Linked DNA regions of Homo sapiens: all the other regions are linked to region 2. The links are contacts of gene promoters, found by promoter capture Hi-C in blood cells and fetal thymus (Javierre and others, 2016). All regions are on one chromosome and are shown on one strand. Each heading gives the region's core, a stretch centred on a gene start or on the middle of the fragment in contact. The rest is flanking DNA. Distances are from core to core; before and after follow the strand shown.

The links. The method cuts DNA at HindIII sites, captures the fragments that hold promoters and counts their contacts. A CHiCAGO score of 5 or more calls a contact.
Region 1: a fragment that was not itself captured here is called in contact with the fragment with the promoter of XKR6 in region 2 in 3 of 17 cell types (naive CD4 T cells, naive CD8 T cells and total CD8 T cells); the score reaches 5.6 in naive CD4 T cells.
Region 3: a contact is called between the fragment with the promoter of CTSB here and the fragment with the promoter of XKR6 in region 2, in 2 of 17 cell types (total B cells and fetal thymus). The highest score is 6.3, in total B cells.

What each region holds. Positions count from the first base shown.
Region 1 is chr8:11,772,864-11,775,763 of GRCh38, reverse strand. The region is part of intron 2 of NEIL2 (nei like DNA glycosylase 2); the gene reads right to left. Among named protein-coding and RNA genes, the nearest start is that of NEIL2, 4.6 kb to the right of the region's middle. The HindIII fragment of the contact is 7,750 bases long and covers 1-2,900 here.
Region 2 is chr8:11,200,421-11,203,120 of GRCh38, reverse strand. XKR6 (XK related 6) reads left to right here and starts at 1,288. Exons shown (of 3, transcript NM_173683.4): 1 at 1,288-2,545. The coding sequence starts at 1,782. RefSeq lists silencers at 1,525-1,694, 1,775-2,134, 2,335-2,700. The HindIII fragment of the contact is 2,424 bases long and covers 921-2,700 here.
Region 3 is chr8:11,866,837-11,869,602 of GRCh38, reverse strand. It overlaps CTSB (cathepsin B), which reads left to right and starts at 1,516. Exons shown (of 10, transcript NM_001908.5): 1 at 1,516-1,602. RefSeq lists silencers at 1,363-1,482, 1,623-1,952 and an enhancer at 2,043-2,252. The HindIII fragment of the contact is 8,989 bases long and covers 1-2,766 here.

The sequences.
Region 1 (2,900 bases), core at 345-2,844, 570 kb before region 2:
GGCATTTTGCCCCTGCCCTAGAGATCTATGGAAATTTGAACTTGAGAGACATGATTATGGCATCTGGTGAAAGAAATTTCTAAGTGGCAAAGCATTCAAGAGGAAGCAGAGCACAGAAGTTTGAAAAATTTGCAGCCTGATGATGCAGTAGAAAAGAAAAACCCATTTTCTGGGGAGAAATTCAAGCTGGCTGCAGAAATTTGCATAAGTAACTAGGAGTCAAATGCTAACCACCAAGCCAATAAGGAAAATGTCTCCAGAGCATGTCAGAGACCTTCACAGCAGCCCCTCCCATCACAGGTCCAGACACCTAGAAGGAAAAAATGGTTTCCTGGGCCAGATCCAGGGCCCCCTCTGCTGTGTGCAGCCTAGGGACTTGGTGCCCTGTGTCCTAGCCCCTCCAGCCATGGCTAAAAAGCGCCAATGTACAACCCAGGCTGCTGCTTCAGAGGGTACAAGCCCCAAGCCTTGGCGGTTCACATGTGGTGTTGAGCCTGCAGGTGCACAGAAGTTAAGAATGGAGGTTTGGAAACCTCCACCTAGATTTCTGAGGATGTATAGAAACAACGGGATGTCCAGGCAGAGGTGTGCTGCAGGGGCAGAGCCCTCATTGAGAACCTCTGCTAGGGCAGTGCAGAAGGAAAAGACGGGGTTAGAGCCCCAAGGCAGAGTTCCCACTGGGGCACTGCCTAGTAGAGCTGTGAGAAGAGGGCCACTGTCCTCCAGACCCCAGAATGGTAGATCTACTGACAGCTTGCACCCTGCCCTGGAAAACACACAGACACTCAATGCCAGCCTGTGAAAGCAGCCAGGATGACGGACTGTACCCTACCAAAGCCACAGAGGCAGAGCTGCCCAAGGCCGTGGGAGTCTACCTCTTGCATCAGCGTGCCCTGGATGAGAGACATGGAGTCAAAGATCATTTTGGAGCTTTAAGATTTGACTGCCTCACTGGATTTCAGACTTGCATGGGGCCTGTAGCCCCTTCGTTTTGGCCAATTTCTCCCATTTGAAACAGGTGTATTTACCCAATGCCTGTACCCCCATTGTATCTAGGAAGTAACTAACTTGCTTTTGATTTTACAGGCTCATAGGTGGAAGCAACCTGCCTTGTCTCAGATGAGACTTTGGACTGTGGCCTATTAAATTAATGCTGAAATGAATTAAGACTTTTGGGGACTGTTGGGAAGGCATGATTGGTTTTGAAATGTGAGGACTTGTGCTTTGGAAGGGCCTGGGGGTGGAATAATATAACTCCCATGATTCCCATGTGTTATGGGACGGACCTGGTGGGAGGTACCCAGTGGGAGGTAATTGAATCATGGGGGCTGTTCTCGTGATAGTAAATAAGTCTCAAGAGATCTGATGGGTTTTTTGTTGTTGTTGTTTTTCAGATGGAGTCTCACTCTGTTGCTGAGGCTGGAGCGCAGGTGCGATCTCAGCTCACTGCAACCTCTGTCTCCTGGGTTCAAGCAATTCTCCTGCCTCAGCCTCCCAAGTAGCTGGGATTACAGGCGCCCACCACCATGCCCAGCTAATTTGTGCATCTTTAGTAGAGATGGGGTTTAACATGTTGGCCAGGCTGGTCTCAAACTCCTGACCTCAGGCGACCTGCCCACCTCTGCCTCCCAAAGTGCTGGGATTACAGGCATGAGCCACTGCACCTGGCCTGACGGTTTTATAAATGGTAATTCCCCTGCACAAGCTCTCTTGCCTTCCACCATGTAGGATGTGCCTTTGTTTCCCCTTCGCCTACTGCCATAATTGCGAGGCCTCCCCAGCCATGCAGAACTGTGAGTCCATTAAACCTCTTTCCTTCATAAATTACCCAGTCTTGGAAGGGGAGAGTAGAAGGAGCTTGGTTTCCAATGTTGCTCCTATACCACCCTGGACTGTTCCATTACTGGAGGAGGAGAAAACCATGAGCTAGAGTAGCCATTTTTCTGAGTCTGTTATGAGTAATCCAACACAACTCCTATATAGAAAATGGAGAGCTGACAAGAAAAGGATGTGCCAGACAAACAGATGGCACAGAGTGCAGCCAAGCTCCCTCCTGCCTCATCAACTCACCCTGCTCACTCCACCTCCATCGGCCCGCCTGTAACTGCTTCTCAAGCCTGAAATGCCCTTTCCTCCCTCTTCAGTCCACTGAAATCCTCCAGCCTTCAAGGCCCAACTCAAGTCCTACCTCCTGCACATCTTCTCCAGGCCACCGGGACCTCTTCCTGTCAGGGTCATTACCTGGGCCTTTATGATGTGCTCTGCCCTCCCCATTTAGCATAGCTTAATAGTGTGGCCTGTGTCGATACAAGCCGTATGTTCTCAATTCAGTTCTAAGTTCCTAGGGTCAGGGACCCGCCGACAGGGAGAAGCAGGGAAGGGCGCTCACTTCAAAGCACTGCCAGGCAGCCCCGAAGGTTCCCTGCAACCTTAGGTTCCCTGCAACATGGTTTTCTGCTTGGTTTACTGGGAAAGCAGCTCCCAGTCCCGTCTACGGGTTCCTTCACCGCACATCCATCTGCCCACCCATCCACTTGGGAAATATTCTCTTACAGCCAGCTCTGTGGCAGACACCCTGGTAAGTGCTGGGGATCCAGAGACAAGAGACAATTCTGCCCCTGCAAACCTCGAAGGACAGTGTGTACAAAGAGGCCACAGTCCTGGAGGCCATGGGACCCCGTGCTCTCACCTGTTCCTTGCCAGCCACCTGAGCTTGGGCTAAGTACTCCCTTCTCCGAGCCTCAGTCTCCAAAGGAATCAACTATGGGTACAGGGCTACAGGATCTCTTCCAGTTCTAACTAACAACGGTTTTAAAACCTCTGTGTGTGTGTGTTGCGGGGGTGGGGGGTGAGGGCAAGATGGAAGAAAGGGAACTAGTACTTATGGAGTACCCGTTATG
Region 2 (2,700 bases), core at 39-2,538:
AAGTTGATTTTGGAATCACTCCCCTCTTCCCAATGTATGGGAGTAAAAATTCACTATTAGTAATTTTTCTAAAGTCTTCAGAGATTTCACACTGGCATATATACTCATGAAAAGCTGTGTCCTAAAATGTAGTATCCCCATCTACCCTGCCACTCCCAAAACTCATAGGTGCCATAGTATTCAATAGTATCAAAGTAACTATTGAAGTTGTCAAACGCACCTTTCTGCCATAGAACCTCCAGCCATATAAATATTACCTAATTTGTACTCTTAACATTCTAAAGACAGTTATTGGCATTATTAGAAGACTTTAGTGAATGGAGAAGTAGACAGAATCACAAAAATGAGTTCAAAAATCTAGGGAAGTCAATGAGAAAATTCAGGGATTTTTTTCCCCCTCATTCTTTTTTTTAACTGTAAAATGTTCATTTCATCTGATCAGGAACAACTGTAACCATGTAGCTTGCCCTATTTTGGCTATCTGGCTTCAAAAATACTTTCACTGGAAGATCATTGTAATTCAAATCCATTCAGTGCTGTTTCACTTTTGTAATTTGTTAGCTAAGTTTAAGTAGTGTATCCTGCACCTACTTTAATGATATAGCACATTGATAACATTTTTTTCCTTATTTAAAGCAATGTTTACCCACAGCGCCTTAGCACCAAAAAAATTCTAAAAGGCACTCCTTACACATTTAAATAACCTGAACAAATAATTGATACAGGTTAAGCCCTGGCTAGTTCTGCATTTTCCAAATTAAGATCACAGAATTTAAAAATTGCATATTAAAAAAAAAGTTGGTAGAATATATTTCCATAGGGCAGAAAATATATTCAAGGTCACAATATGCCCATTCATTCCTTGCTCCAACATGTAAGACCCAACCAGGCTGATTTCCAATTGAATTTTGCCTGAAGCTTTTTTAAGGTAATGATGGAAACTTTATTACAAAAGGTGGTTAAGTTGTCAGTGACAGGAAAATCAGGAGGTCAACAGAGGTAAGAGGAGAGGTGTCTAAATGGAAGTGAGAATCAGTAACTTGATTGTGAAAATCTGACTTATGTAATTTTTAAAGACCCTCAAAATAAGAGAAGAATAAGAGAAATTTAAAAGAAAATAGAAACAGCCAAAGAGGTGAGACATAGACATTTTGATTGGGGGGGGGTGTTGTCTAACTACACAATGAGGTCATCCCATCTCCCGGAAGTGACACGTAATCACCTGCTTTGCACTAGCTCCGCCCCTTCCCTCAGAGGTCCCGCCCCTCCACCAGCAGCCGGGAGGGTGTTAGGGGGCGTTTCTCCAGGAGGAAAGCTGTGAGCTGCGACGCTGAGGAAGGGGACCCCAAAACGTCTGGCACTGCCCCCTCCAGGGATCACTTTGGACCGCCTCACTCGGGCCAGCCGGATTCTGAAACGCCGAGGGGTCAACCTGATGGGTTTCGGGGTCAACGGAAGAGGGGAAGGGGAGCCCTGGCGGGGAGAACCCCCCGGTCCCCCGCCCAGCAGCTGAGGCACAGGAGGGCGGCCATCTTGGCCGGGAGGGTAGGGCTGGGGAGCTGCGGGCGCCGTGCGATTGGGGGGCTCGCCCGGAAGTGACGCCAACTACCCGGAAGCGGAGGGGGTTCCCTGGCCCACTCCCCCCTCGTTCGTTTGCTCCCCCGCTTCCTCCCCGCCCCCCTTCCTCTCCATTCGTTTCCCCCCCTCCCCGTTCCCTGCCTTCTTCCCCCCCCCCCCGCCGTCCCTCCCCCCCAACCTCCGGAGCTGGGAAGAGAGTCAAGATGGCGGCGAAATCCGATGGCGGTGGCGTGGGGGTGGGCTTCGCTCAGCTGCACAACCTGGACGAGGCGGTGGGCAGCGGCGGCGAGGAGGACGGGGAGCCCGGGGGAGGCGGCTGCGGCGGCGGCGGCGACGGCAGCGAGCCCGGCGAGAGCAGCTCGATGCACATCTGCCACTGCTGCAACACCTCCTCGTGCTACTGGGGCTGCCGCTCCGCCTGCCTGCGCTCCCTCCTGGGCAGGAAGCCGCGCCGCAGCGCCGCCGCCGACGGGGGGGACCAGCCGCTGCAGCCTCCCGCGGCCCCCGGCGCCGGCCGCCAACCCCCGACGCCCTCGGCCGCGCGGCCGGAGCCGCCGCCGCCGCAGGTGGAGCGGCCGTGGCTCGACTGCCTGTGGATCGTGCTGGCGCTGCTGGTGTTCTTCGGGGACGTGGGCACCGACCTGTGGCTGGCCCTCGACTACTACCGCAAGGGGGACTACGTCTACTTCGGGCTGACCCTCTTCTTCGTGCTGGTGCCGTCGCTGCTGGTGCAGAGCCTGAGCTTCCGCTGGTTCGTGCAGGACTACACGGGCGGCGGGCTGGGCGCCGTGGAGGGGCTCACCAGCCGGGGCCCCCCCATGATGGGGGCCGGCTACGTCCACGGCGCGGCCCGCGGTGGCCCAGGCGTGAGGGTCTCCCCCACGCCGGGGGCGCAGCGCCTGTGTCGCCTCTCCGTGTGGATCTGGCAGTCGGTCATCCACCTGCTGCAGATGGGGCAGGTGTGGAGGTAAGAGCACTGCGGGGTGGGGGCGGGCCGGCCCTGAGGAGCCCCCCTCCGCCCTCCCGGTGCTTCGCGGGGCGGCCCCTCGAAAGGGCCCAGCGCGGGGGGCTCGAAGGAGGGACCGGCCGCGCGCCGCCCCTGGCGTCTCCAAAAGACCGGCG
Region 3 (2,766 bases), core at 267-2,766, 670 kb before region 2:
TTTTTTTTTTTTTTTTTTTTTTTTTGAGGCGGAGTCTCGCTTTTCGCCCAGGCTGGAGTGCAGTGGCACGATCTCAGCTCACGGGTTCACGCCATTCTCCTGCCTCCGCCTCCCGAGTAGCTGGGACTACAGGCGCCCGCCACCACGCCCGGCTAATTTTTTGTATTTTTACTAGAGACGGGGTTTCACCGTGTTAGCCAGGATAATCTTGATCTCCTGACCTCGTGATCCGCCCGCCTCGGCCTCCCAAAGTGCTGGGATTACAGGCGTGAGCCACTGCACCCGGCTACTGCCTTCTTACTGTCGCCACAGCCTGGATAAAATACGATTCTTCTGAGCCTTTTTTTTTTTTTTAATACAGAGTTTCACTCTTGTTGCCTAGGCTGGAGTGCAATAGTGCGATCTCTGGTCACCGCAACCTCCGCCTCCCGGGTTCAAGCGATTCTCCTGCTTCAGTCTCCCGAGTAGCTGGGATTACTGACACGCGCCACCACGCCCGGCTAGTTTTGTATTTTTAGTAGAGACGGGGTTTCTCCATGTTGGTCAGGATGGTCTCGAACTCCCGACCTCAGGTGACTCACCGGCCTCGGCCTCCCAAAATGCTGGGATTACAGGCGTGAGCCACCGAACCCAGCCCCTCTGAGCCTCTTGAATACAACTGGGGTCATGCCTGCTTTGCAGGTTTGTCTTAAGGATTAAAGCTGTTTGGGGAGTGTCTGGAGGAGGGTGAGTCTTGAGCCAACCCCTGCATCTCCCTTCCAGGGCCTCCCGGTAATAAACCCCAAGTAAATGTGCACTTTGTCCGTCCTCTCGGAGCAGGTCTCCGGGTACTCCTGTGCCAAACCGATTTCCGCCCCCAAGGTCCTTCTCCTCTTAGAAATCCTGACGCAGCTCCTAGGTTCCTTCGCAGTGACAGCCACTCTTTTCTATTTGTACGTAGCTGTAGTGTTTTGTGGGTACGTTCTCTGAACAACAAAGTGGCCCTTCTAAAGGCTGTTCTGTGGGGTCCACAGCCTCGCCACCCCCAGCCTCTGCAGCGGCTTCTGAATGAATGAAATAAGCGACGGCGCCCTCTCCACCACCCCACCCCCGCCAACTCGGCAGGCAGGGATCCCAGGCGCGGGTTCTGGCGGAGGCGGTCCCGCGAGGCGGGGGGACTTTTCTAGGCGGGGTGGGGGCCTTGGGACCACCTTTAGGGGCTTTTTCCCCATCCCCTGGCCCCAATTCGCAGCGTTTCGCCACCCAGGGCCCGCAGGGCTCCAAGCCCTTCTTCCCCAGCCCGCGCGCTCAGGCCCCCGCCCGCCCCCGGCGGTGGCCCCGGACCCCGAGCGGAAGGGGGCGGGGGGTGTGCGGGGCCGGGAAGCGGGGAGCGCGGGCGGCGGAAGGTGGCGGGAGGGGGTGGGGGCTGGGAAGCACCGTGCGCGGGCGGCGGGAGGGCCCGGGCGGGGCTGCGCGGTGGTCACGTGGGGCGGGGCCGGGAGGGTACTTAGGGCCGGGGCTGGCCCAGGCTACGGCGGCTGCAGGGCTCCGGCAACCGCTCCGGCAACGCCAACCGCTCCGCTGCGCGCAGGCTGGGCTGCAGGCTCTCGGCTGCAGCGCTGGGTGAGTGCTGGGGACCCGGGGCCACCGCAGCGTAAGTGACCTTGGCGGGGACGGTGCTACCCGGCCGCCGAGACGGGTTCCTCTGCGCCCTCAGTCGGGCCCAGGCGCGGCCCCGCGGCGTCCCTGGGGGCCGGCGGGGAGCCGGGACCCTCGGGACTGTCCCTGACGGGCGGGCTGGGGTGGGAGTCCGCGCGCTCCGAAGCGTCGGCGAGAAAAGCAGAAAACAGCTCCGCCCGCCAGCCCTCTGCCCTCCGCTCCCCTCCCCGGGCTGTGCGCCGGACCCCGGCCCTCGGAGCGGGGACGCGGCCAGGACCGCCGAGGGAGGCGCCTGCGAGGAAGAGCTCGGCCGGGTCCGGAGACTGCTGCCTGGGACCGCGCTCCCAGCGCCTGGGCCTCGGTGTCTCCGGGCCAAACTGCCGACATAATCGCATCTGCCGGCATCTATTTTCGGTTTATTTCCCCCTCATTGCGAAGGATTTGCCTGGCCAACTTTCTGCGCAAGATCCCACGCAATTCCTGGGACCCCAGAAGACAGGTCCTGTTGAAGAACAGGAATCTGGCACTGGGTGGGCTGGGGAGGAAGCCGCACGGTGTTAAATCCATAAACAGGAAGAGAAACCAGACAGCGAAACCAAGAGGCGAATGGGCGATTGGATGCCGGTGGGGAGAAGGCCGGGGGCGCACCCTGCTCCTGGACTCCAGTAAAGGGAGGCCGGGCAGAGTCCCTGGGGCGCCACCTCCCCCTCGGTTAGTAGCCCTGGAGGCCGGGGGGAGTTGGCCTCTGGGGAGCAGTGGGTGCTGGGTGTGGGGCGTTGCAGGCAGGCTGGGGTGGGCGACCCAGGTGGAAGTGAATTGCACTTGGCTTCCTGGTGGGCCTCTGTCACCCCCTTCCCAGGCGCTGAGAAAGCCAGCAGGCTGGCAAAGAAAAGGACCCTAGCGCAGGCCCCACACTCCTCCTCCTAACGGACGAGAGACCCCCCAAACCCACTGGAGAAGTGACGCTGTGGGGTTCAAATGCAGACCTGGCACCTTTTTGTAGCCTGGAAAAACATTCCCACTGCCTGCTGCCGGAGGAGAGGATAGCTGAGATGCACTCTCTTTGAATCCAAACGTTCAGGAACGTAAGGCGAAGAGGCCTAAGAGGGCGTTGGCTGGCTCTGTCTC